Regions from separate parts of the Homo sapiens genome. Here regions 2, 3 and 4 are each linked to region 1. The links are contacts of gene promoters, found by promoter capture Hi-C in human tissues and cell types (Jung and others, 2019). All regions are on one chromosome and are shown on one strand. Each heading gives the region's core, a stretch centred on a gene start or on the middle of the fragment in contact. The rest is flanking DNA. Distances are from core to core; before and after follow the strand shown.

What was found. The method cuts DNA at HindIII sites, captures the fragments that hold promoters and counts their contacts. A contact is called where the count stands out against the background at its distance.
Region 2: a fragment that was not itself captured here is called in contact with the fragment with the promoter of ZBTB26 in region 1 in 1 of the 25 tissues and cell types used here (dorsolateral prefrontal cortex).
Region 3: a contact is called between a fragment that was not itself captured here and the fragment with the promoter of ZBTB26 in region 1, in 1 of the 25 tissues and cell types used here (mesenchymal stem cells).
Region 4: a contact is called between a fragment that was not itself captured here and the fragment with the promoter of ZBTB26 in region 1, in 2 of the 25 tissues and cell types used here (dorsolateral prefrontal cortex and thymus).

The regions. Positions count from the first base shown.
Region 1 is chr9:122,930,204-122,932,844 of GRCh38, forward strand. ZBTB26 (zinc finger and BTB domain containing 26) reads right to left here and starts at 1,309. Exons shown (of 2, transcript NM_020924.4): 1 at 1,234-1,309. It also overlaps a transcript of RABGAP1 not described here. RefSeq lists a silencer at 1,081-1,420. The HindIII fragment of the contact is 7,569 bases long and covers 1-2,641 here.
Region 2 is chr9:123,381,795-123,384,435 of GRCh38, forward strand. It overlaps DENND1A (DENN domain containing 1A), which reads right to left. Exons shown (of 24, transcript NM_001352964.2): 23 at 1,861-2,119; 24 at 1-831. Among named protein-coding and RNA genes, the nearest start is that of MIR601, 19 kb to the right of the region's middle. The HindIII fragment of the contact is 4,004 bases long and covers 1-2,641 here.
Region 3 is chr9:123,336,631-123,339,271 of GRCh38, forward strand. LOC124902266 (a long non-coding RNA gene) reads right to left here. Exons shown (of 2, transcript XR_007061760.1): 2 at 771-2,501. Among named protein-coding and RNA genes, the nearest start is that of CRB2, 18 kb to the right of the region's middle. RefSeq lists enhancers at 1,435-1,594, 2,455-2,641. The HindIII fragment of the contact is 9,022 bases long and covers 1-2,641 here.
Region 4 is chr9:123,275,855-123,278,495 of GRCh38, forward strand. No RefSeq gene overlaps it. Among named protein-coding and RNA genes, the nearest start is that of STRBP, 8.6 kb to the left of the region's middle. The HindIII fragment of the contact is 6,973 bases long and covers 1-2,641 here.

The DNA of each region.
Region 1 (2,641 bases), core at 59-2,558:
ATGTCCAAAAAATGAATTCATAATCTACACTAAGCTTATGGCTTTATTTCTGATAATGGCATTACCATCCTTCAGCTCAGAGGTCTAAAACCTAAGAATTAGATTTGGTCCCTCACACTTCTTCAGCATTCAGTTAATTATGGAGTCTTGACATAATCATCTCCAGTATATTTGTCTCCTTACCAATGACACCATTATAACTTATTTCAGGAATTTTTTGCCTCTCACTAGGCTGATCCCATTACCCCTTCAAAAGAATCTCCGATAAGCGTTCCTAACTTTTAGCTAAATGTCTAAATGCAGTTAATAGAAAGTCCCTTCTCTATGGGCTTTCTACAGAACAAAATGATTTCCTGCAGTGCAAATCTGACCATATCAATATTCTGTTCCGAACTCTTCAAAAAACTACCCATCTCCTTTAGGATTACACCATTCACCATCTGGACCTCGGTCGACTTTCCCAGTCTCATATCCATTCTGTGCATAGGAGTCCCCCCATTTCCTCCTCTTCCCACACAAGTTATGCTCAGTCATTTCTCCACAGTATTGCAACTGTCTTCCCTGAAAAACTCTTCAACACTTTACTCTCTCCAAGTACAATTCAGACATCACTTTCTTTCTAAAGCCTTCTCAGCAACGGCCCCTTGAGCAATTAACACATATGTGACTGATACATACATACATATATATACACATAGGAGTACTTATTTGTTCAGATCTGGCTCCCAAACTTAATCCCGAAAACTGGAACAATATCTTGCCAATCTCCAGTGTCTGGTATAGCGCCAGTAATATAAAAGGTGCTGCGACCAGTGGCCAAATAGGGGAAAACCCCAGCAAAAGGGTAACCTAGCACTCACAGTGGTTCTCAAAGACTGGCACTGAATGCCTGGTCTTGGGCTGGCTCCCGAGGCTCGTTTTCTTAGGGCCTCACCTCTGGCACTTCTTATAAGATGCCAGAGTCAGGCCCCCAAGCCAACTGCTGGGCCCTCAGCTGGGGTCCTATGAGGCGGTCCCAGGGGCATCCTCAGGCTCCCCACTCCAGTCACAGGGAAGGGAAAGGGGCGGGGCGCAGCGTGGGCCGGGCCAAGGGCTCCTCAAGTCCCCAGGGGCCTAGGCCAGCCTCTCGGCTCCCATCCCAGTGCAGGTCCCGGTTGATCCAGGGCCCCAGGGGGGTTCCATTTTGAGACACCCCGCACCCCAGCCCGCCGCTCCGGCCGTCTCCGCACTTACAGACCCGGGGGAAGGCCGCCGTCAGGATCCGGCACCGCCAGGAGCTCCGGCCCCTCGGGGCTCCGGGAAGGGGGAGGGGCAAGGAACCCGAGCCAAAGGGGGACCCAACGGAACCGGAAGGGCAGCCCTGGCCGGACAAAGACAACTTCCAGGTCCCATGGTCCTCTCCGCCAATCGGAAGGCTCGGAGGACAACAGGGGCCCCGAGAGGGAATTTCTGCGTTGTGGGCGGGGCGCAGACGGAGGGCACCGTACTCTGGGCACTAGCTTCACTGCCTACTACCCCGAGGTGCCTTAGCTCGTAAGCGTCTGTGGCTCAGGCCCTGTGCGCCTCGCAGGGACCCGCTGCTCGGGACCCCCGTCTCAGCGGCTCTTCTGTAGCTGGGCCTAGACGGTCCGCTGCCTCCTTGGGCCTGAAGGGCTCCTCTGCACTTAAACTTTGGTAAGTCTTTTTAGCCTAGGGGTGTAGACTCGTCGCGCGGGAGCCCGAAGAGCAGAAAGCTCTCCCCTCACTTTTGGATGTGTTTTTCAGGGTTCTTGCCTTGGAGTTCTTCCTAGGGCAAACTCTTGCACTCCCATGGCTTCCGTTACCTACTTCATGCTGACCATTCACAACCCAGGCAGCTACATGGACGAGATCTCCAGCTGTCCTGATGTGAAAGTACCTTTTAATGATCTCAAGTTCATCTCATCTCCTATCCAGACCGGAAAACTTGAGGATCCTTCTAGAGTTCTTTTCCTTGCCAATCCAGTTTACTGGTTTTTGACCATTCTTTTCGTTTTTGGTGGTGGTGAGGGGCTTTTTATTGAGGTAAAACATGCGTAATGTTTATTACTTTAATCATTTGTAAGTGTAAAACTTGATGGTCTTGAACTCTGGAGTTAAAGTGATCCACCCTCCTCAGCCTCCCAAAGTGCTGGGATTACATGTGTGAGCCACTGCTCCCAGCCTTTCCCTCTTTTTAATGTAGTTATTTACAACTATACATTTCACTTTGATCACTGTTTTCACTACAGCTCATAAGTTTTTGTATGTTGTGTTATTTTCATTCATTTCTAAGTATTTTCTAATTTCCCTTTTGATTTCTTCTTCTTTTTTTTTCTTTTTTTTGAGATGGAGTTTCGCTCTTGTTGCCCAGGCTGGAGTGCAATGGTGTGATCTCGGCTCACCGCAACCTCCGCCTCCTGGGTTCAAGCGGTTCTCCTGCCTCCGTCTCTAAAGTAGCTGGGATTACAGGCATGCGCCACCACACCGGGCTAATTTGATATTTAGAGATATGGAGACGTGGTTTCTCCGTGTTGGTCAGGCTGGTGTCGAACTCCCGACCTCAGGTGATCCACCCGCCTTGGCCTCCCAAAGTGCTGGGATTACAGGTGTGAGCCACCGTGCCTGACCTTGATTTCTTCTT
Region 2 (2,641 bases), core at 59-2,558, 450 kb after region 1:
GGCGGAGAGGTTGGGCTGAGACCTGTGAGGGGCACAGAAGCCAGCACTGGACAGCAGGAGGCCGGACGCAAAAGCCGGCCCCAGGGAAGCTGGAGGGGCCCCGAAAGGCCCGGCTGGTGTGGAGACCAGGGGCAGGGTGGGTGGGGCTGCTGGCATGGATGGGACAAAGGGGTTGAGTGGTGGCTGTGGGAATGGGGTGGGTGTCCCTGCAGGGGGGAAGCTGAATTGGGGGGTGAATGGGGTGGCTACATTCGGGGTGGCGGGGCGTGACGGGAGGGTGCTGCCTGACCAGGCTGTGCTGAGCGGGTCCAGGAGGGCGAGCAGGGCGTCACTGCTCGTGCCTGCAGCCCCGGGGCCAGGGCTGAGCGGCTGGAGCAGTTCAGTGGGGCCTTGGGGGACAACACCAGGCAGGAGCCCTGGACTCAGGGCAGCTCGCCTGTCCCGATCCGTCTGCAGCCGCTCTGAGACGTCACCAAGTGCGGCGCCGGCAGCCTGGAGCTTGGCCGGGCGGGGAATGGGCGGTGGAGGCACGATGCCCAGCTCTGGGGTCTTCCTGCCTTGGGGCCGGGGGATGGTGATGCTGCCCAGAGTAGGGGTGGGCACCTCCTCCTTGTCACTGGGGTTCAGGATGCTGTCCCGGTTCTGGGGCCTTCGAGGCAGGGCCAGGGAGTTTCCGAGCAGGGCTGAGGGCTTCTCAGGGGAGGCAGCTGGGGGCTTGCTGGGGATGGCCATGTCGTCCTGGCCCAGGCTCCAGAGCTTGTTGTACGGGTGGGTAAGCTTCAAGGCCACTGTCACCCCGCGGCTCCTCTCACTCCCGCCCAGATCCAGCCTCTGTTGGGAGGGAAGGAGGGCGGCAGTGACCACGGGCTGAGTTGGGACATATGTGTGCCCATTCCCACACCACTTCTGTGTGCTGAATGTGTGCTGGGCCTAGTTGTGTGGCTGATCAGCTCCTCGGACTTGGAACAGCTGAGGGCTCCCCCAGGTTACCAGCAGAGGACCCACGTGTGCTGGGACTCCAAGCCTGTGCTCCGGGAACTCAAGACAAAGCTCTCGTCCCTTTATGCCAGTGGCGGTTGCCAAGGAGTTTTAGGAAAGTGACTCCAGCTACCGGCTGGCCCTTTTTACTTTTTAGATCGCAGGCACCCGCAATCACCTGTAAGCCCGGGGGCGCGAGTGAGACTCAGGGCCTGGTAGGAGGCACCTTGGCTGGGGAGGAAGGAGGAGGCCAAGTTGGAGTCCTGGCTCTGCCACTTGCAAGCCACACGGCCCGGGTGCCAGTCCCTTTCTCCTGGCCCAGGTCCTCGTTCCCAGCAGGGAACACTCATGAATGACTGGAGCTCTGTGAACCCCACGGTGTGACCCAGTGATGCAAAGTCAGAAGACCCCACTTGCAAGTGAGGAAACTGAGGCACCGAGCGGGGATGTGATGGATTAGACGTCACAGTGGGAATTACACACTGATTTGCATTCATAATGCAGAGCCAAGAACTTGCATCCACAGGCTCTGCCAAGGAGCCCTGGCAGGGATGGACGCAATCCCGGTTCCAGCAGGGGCTGCAGCCCTGCCTGGGGGTGCGAGGAGAGTGGCTGGCAGCACCCGCCCCCCCGTCTGATGCACACACAGAGTGGGGCAAGTTTCCATCGGGCTCTAGCATCTTCTCCTACCGTCACTGTTAGGGTGGTGTGGGCCCCGGCACCCTGGGAGGTGTTTACAGTCACACTGACCCTGAGCATTGGCTGAGGGTCTTGGAAAGTCACTGTTTCTCCCTTAGTCTCTTCCACTGTCACATGGGGATCCCACCTCGTGTGCGGACAGTGCCGGCCCCCGGCCGATACCCTCCCTTGCCCATGCCATACCTGATAGTCAAAGGTCCCTGGCTGCTCCCTCAGGTCTTTGGGGGCACGAAGGTCCTCTAAGCTCTTGGCCTGGCCCAGTGGCTGCAGTGCGGCCTCCATGTCCAGGTTGCTGAAGACGTCTTCCAGAAGGTCGATGCTGGCAGCCCGGTCAGGGGGAGCTGGGACAGGGCCTGTGGACTTCCGCACTTGCTGCTCTGGACTCTCTGCCTCGTCGCCTTCCGCGCTGTCTGACTCCCTGAGTGTCCGATACGGCTGCGGCCTGTCGGGGACAGAGCAGGCTGCACTCTCCCACCCAGGCCTTCAGGGGAGGAGCAAGCGGACTCCAGCCCAAGCACATTGAGGGCTTGAGGGGTGCACGCAGGGGCCTGCGGGACAGGAGAGTGTCCCGGGGTCTCCGTGAGGGCAGGAGTCTGGGAGGCTGCGAGGGTGCAAGCTGGGCATGCCGATGGGCCTGGGGCTGTGAACCAGGGCAACTCGCTTTGGCTCTCACTTGCACTCAGGGGACCCATTTAGTGCCCCCCAAACTACAGGTCCTTTCATAAAACTGGCTACTGGGCTTGTGAGCCATTCAGACAAGGTGTGAGGAACAGACAGGACTGGAAGGGGGCTCACAGGCCAGCAGTCATGCTCCTCTTGCTCCCGCCCTGCTCTGCTGTTTGTTTGGTGGCCTAGGCACAGCCACAGTCAGGTTCTGTGAACAGCCCATGGGGAACTGGGCTGGGGAAGCTCTCCAGGGGAGCTGTCTGGGCCTAAGCTTGCCCTGCTAACCTTGGTTCCACCT
Region 3 (2,641 bases), core at 42-2,541, 410 kb after region 1:
TCTCTTCTCAACTCTGAACAAATGTGAGGTGTGGGGGTGATGATGCTGGAGGGAGGAGGCCAAGCCTCAGCACCCCCACCCTGGCCTTGCTGCCTGTGCCAAGGTACCAAGCCTTGCCTCAGCTTTCCCCTCTTGGGTGTGGCTCCACTCTGTACAGAAGGCCACCTGGAGGCCTTTCCTGAGATCTCCTATCTTACAGGTGGAGGGAGAGTAGGGTGATGGGGTGGCATGGAGGAGGGAACTTCACCGAGGGCCCAACTCCCATCTTCTGGGTAAAGTCCTCTAGTGAGAGCCCAGAAAAATCACAAGAGTCCAGCCCCCCAGCCATTGACCAGCTGGAGAAACTGAGGCCCCAAAAGTGGAGGTACTTACAGTCACTCAGAGAAGTGGGTGCAGAGGTGGGGCTGGAATTCATCTCCATGCCCTTCCCATGGCCTGTGCTGGGAGTGTGGCTTCAGATCTGAGAAGGCCTTAGATCATTTGTTCATTCCTTCATTCATTTGTTCATTCATTCTTTCATTCAGCTAGTCAGTCAACAAACATTTCTTGAGTGTCCACTCTGTGTCAGATGCTAGATTTAATAATTGTGGGTATGGCTTGGTCCCTGCCCTCATGGAGTTTATAGTCTAGCACTGTGCTGCCCAGTGCAGTAGCCTCTGGCCACATGTGGCTGTTGAGCAGTTGAAATGCAGCTGTTCCAAACTGAGATGTGTTACAAGTGTGAAATACACACTGGATTTTGAAGACTTAGTATGGAAGAAAGTAAGATATCTCAATGATTATTTATTTATTATTATTTTTTTTTTTAGACAGAGTCTTGCTCTGTTGCCCAGGCTAGAGTGCAGCAGCGCAATCTTGGCTCACTGTAGACTCTGCCTCCTAAGATCAAGCAATTCTCCTGTCTTAGCCTTTTGAGTAGCTGGGACTACAGGCACACGCCACCAATCCTGGCTAATTTTTGCATTTTTAGTAGAGACAGGGTTTCACCACGTTGGTCAGGCTGGTCTTGAACTCCTGACCCTAGGTGATCCGCCTGCCTCGGCCTCTCAAAATGCTGGGATTACAGGCGTGAGCCATGGCACCCAGCCATTAATAATTTTTTTTATCTTGATTACATGTAGGAATGATATTTGGAGTATAGTGGGTTAAACAAAATATTAGATTAACTTCTTCTGCATCTTTTTACTTTCTTAAACAGTAGTTACAGGGGACGGTGGTTCATGTCTGTAATCCCAGCACTTTGGAAGGCTGAGGCAGGAGGATTGCTTGAGTCCAGGATTTTGAGACCAGCCTGAGCTATATAGGAAGACTCCACCTCTACAAGAAATAGAAAAAATTAGCTAGGTGTGGTGGCACACGACTGTAGTCCCAGCTACTCAGGAGGCTGAGGTGGGAGGATTGCTTGAGCCAGAGAGTTCGAGACTGCAGTGAGAAGTGATTGTGCCACTGTACTCTAGCCCTGCTCATTCTTCTGAGAGGAGGTGGCTTCCTCTTGCCAGTGAGGAGGTCTCTTGGGGCCCGTGTGAGCAGCCGAGTACTTGGGGGCACCAGCTCTGTGGCTGTACCACCTGGACCTGGTCTTGATTCTGCCACTCACCAGCTGTGACTCACCACCCCACAATGACCCACATGATTACAATTGTGCTATGGGTCTTTTTTTTTTTTTTTTTTTTTTGAGACAGGGTCTTGCTCTGTTACCCAGGTGGGAGTGCAGTGATGTGATCACAGCTCACTGCAGCCTCGAACTCCTGGGCTCAAGCTACCCCCTAGCCTTAAGCTCCTGAGTAGCTGGGACTACAGTTGTGCTCCACTGCGCCCGGCTAATTTTTTAAAAAATAGAGACAGGATCTCACTTTGTTGCCCAGGCTGGTTTTGAACTCCTGGGCTCGAACAGTCATCCTACCTCGGCCTCCCAAAGTGCTGGGATTACAGGCATGAGCCACTGTGCCCAGCCTGTGCTGAGTTTTGCAGGGAGAGCACTCGAGCAGGTTAATGGCAGCGTCCGGCCAGTGGAGGAGGTGGCATTTGAGTGGAGGCCCCCAGGGTAAGGAGAAGCAACTAGAGGGGAACAGCATGCTGGACCAAGGGAACAGCAGGGATGGAGATCGGCCCTGTTGAGGCCCTGAGAGAAGCAGGTCAGCTTGGCCGAGGCTCAGAGATCTGGCCAGGAGGGGGGCCCTGGTGGTGGACAGAGGCCAGATCACAGGACCTCAAGGGCCACACTGAGGAGATTGTTCTTTATCTGGAGGGCAGCTGGGAGCCATGGAAGGTGTGTAAGCATAGGAGTGCCTGGAAGCCTCAAGCGCTCTCTGGCCTTGTATAAGGATTGAGAGAGGCAGAGTCTGAAGCTGGCTTTCTCTTCCTCCAGAGAGGTGGCCCATGGCAGGGCTTGAATTCTCGCCAGGTGGAGCTTGCTGGAACTCCAGCTTCACTGCTCTCTCGCCGTGTGGCTGTGTGACCTCAGCCAGATGACCTGCCTCTCTGTGCTTCGGTTTCCTTATCTGTAAAACAGGAATAACGGTGGTGAGTCACTCGAGGGTTCTGCGAAGACTTGGTGACGTAACGCTTGCGAAGTGCTTGGCACAGAGTAGGTCCACGAATAGTTGTCCCTTTTCCTTTTCCCTTCCTGAGTCCCCCCACC
Region 4 (2,641 bases), core at 49-2,548, 350 kb after region 1:
TTCCATTATTATCCAAGCAGTCTCTTCCATTGTTTAAAAAGAAAAAAGAAAGAAACAAGATCTCCAGGTGATTCACCTGCACCTTACCATTCGAGAAGCACAGACCCAATTTCAGCAGGTACAGATGCCAATCAGAGCCTCAAATGCCATAGCAGAATTGCTGTTGCTGATATGATGTCTGAAATGGTGAATAACTCTTGGTAGGGTCTAAGCAAAACAAGATATAATCTTCATTCACTTTGCATAGTATTTGCCTCCCTGGAGTATTAAAATCATGCTAGAATGTACTTTGTGTTTATATTAAAAATGGAAATTAGTTGTTAAGCTCACATAATTATATATGGGACTTTCACCCATGTAAGTGTCCAGTGGGACATTCAAAAGTCATATGACATGAGGCCAGGCATGGTGGCTCACGCCTGTAATCCCAGTACTTTGGGAGGCAAAGGCGGGTGGATCACTTGAGGTCACGAGTTTGAGACCAGCCTGGCCAACATGGTGAAACCTTGTCTCTACTAAAAATACAAAAGTTAGCCAGGCGTGGTGGTGGGCGCCTGTAATCCCAGCTACTTGGGAGGCTGAGGCAGGAGAATCACTTGAACCCGATAGGTGGAGTTTGCAGTGAGCCGAGATCACGCCACTGCGCTCCAGCCTGGGTGACAGAGCGAGACTCCATCTCAAAAAAAAAAAAAAAAATCATGCAATGCTATCCATGCATTATATGACATCTAGCATCTCAGACTTCTCCCCCTCAATCAATACCATTATGATTACCCAACTCCACCACAAATGTCTAAAAGCTCCCAATGAAAACCATGGCTCTAGAATCTCATTCAACAGCCAACTCAGGATCTACTTGGATGTCACATGCTACTCAACTGTCCATAATTACCTAATCTTTCTCCTAAACTCCAAAACCATCTCTCCTACTGTTCCCCATTTTCAATTCCCTTATTGAGACTATTATAGCTACTGATAGTATAGGACTTATGTGTGTAGAATTTTTTTTTGATTTGTTCTTTTTGTATCCCTTAGAATAGTGCTGGGCATACAGTAGTCAACTATTAAATATTTGTTGAATGAATACCTAGCAAAATTTCCCATTCCCCTACCTTGAGTAACAAACCCCAAAACAATTTGGAAGGGGAGAAACCTGCAAGAAGAGAGCATAGACTCTTGGTCAGAAGCCCCTGCTTCCTACAGAATCTCTGCTAATACCCTTGATAATTCTATTGGCCCAAGATGCAAAAAAGCCCAGAACTACTGCTTAAACTTTCCCACCAAAGTACTTGCGCCTGGCTGGGAAGATTGAGTCAGCCCCACTGGAGGTCTGGAAAAGAGGCCCAGATTCACCAACCTCAAGCATAAAATTTCTCTGAAGTCTGGCCGGGCGGGGTGGCTCATGCCTGTAATCCCAGCACTTTGGGAGGCTGAGGCAAGCAGATCACTTTAGTCCAGGAGTTCAAGACCAGACCTGGCCAACATAGCGAAACACCATCTCTACTAAAAATACAAAAATTAGCTGGGCATGGTGGCGGGCACCTGTAATCCCAGCTACGTGGGAGGCTGAAGCAGGGAGAATTGCTTGAACCCGGGAGGCAGAGGTTGCAGTGAGCCAAGCTTGCGCCACTGCACTCCAGCCTGGGTGACAGAGCGAGTCTTTGTCTCAAAAAAAAAAAAAAAAAAAAAAAAAAAAAAAATTCTTTGAAGTCTCACATTTTATCTTTAAAATTCATGCAAATTTTATGTTTTATTCCCATGTTTGTTTTAACATTAAAATAATGTTTTTAATTACCACCCTTTAGGAGAAAAATTCAAAGCCTGTTTTCCCAACTCTTTAAGTAGAAATTCACACTCCAGGAAGACATTTCTTGTTCATGCTGTGGCTCTGAGTAATTCCTGGCATACCACCGCCTAGCTCTGGTGGTAATTATACTAACAGCCAACATTTATTAAGCACTTATTATGTGCCAGGCAATATATTAAGCACTTAACATGCATTATGTCTTTAAACCTTGCAACAGTCCTATGAAGTAGGTACAATTTTTATCTTAATTTATAGATGAGGAGACTAAGGCTCCAAGAAGGTAAGTAATTTGCACTATATCACTGAGCCAATAAGTGGAAGACGTGGGATTCAGCTCAGTGTTCTCAATTACTGTGCTGCCCATTCCAGTTTGAACAGCAAGGTCCTAGACTTCTAGAACAAGACGGGCTTAAGGCAGCAGGAAAGCCCTAAGAAATCATCCAGCCCCAGTATTTCACAGACCAGGCAAAGTTCTGAGGTGTCTGTGGATTTCTTGGTGGACATATTTTCAGGGGTCCACAAGTGCTAAGATAAGTTTCTAAATGGATGTCTTGGTTTCAATTATAATCTACAAATAATAATAATATGAGTAGGAATCACTAAGACAACCATCTTGTAAACAATCTCTGGCACCCCAAAATTTAGTGATGATGTTTGTGCAAAGTGATTGCCTAAAGTGACAGAGTTTAACAGAGGCAGATATCTTAGATTGGAGGCCAAATTTTCAAGGGTCAGCAAGAAGTTGATTCCTTTAAAACAGTGATTCTCCACAAGGTGTGATTTTGACCTCCTCTCCCCAGCATATTTGGCAATCTCCAGACATTTTTAGTTGTA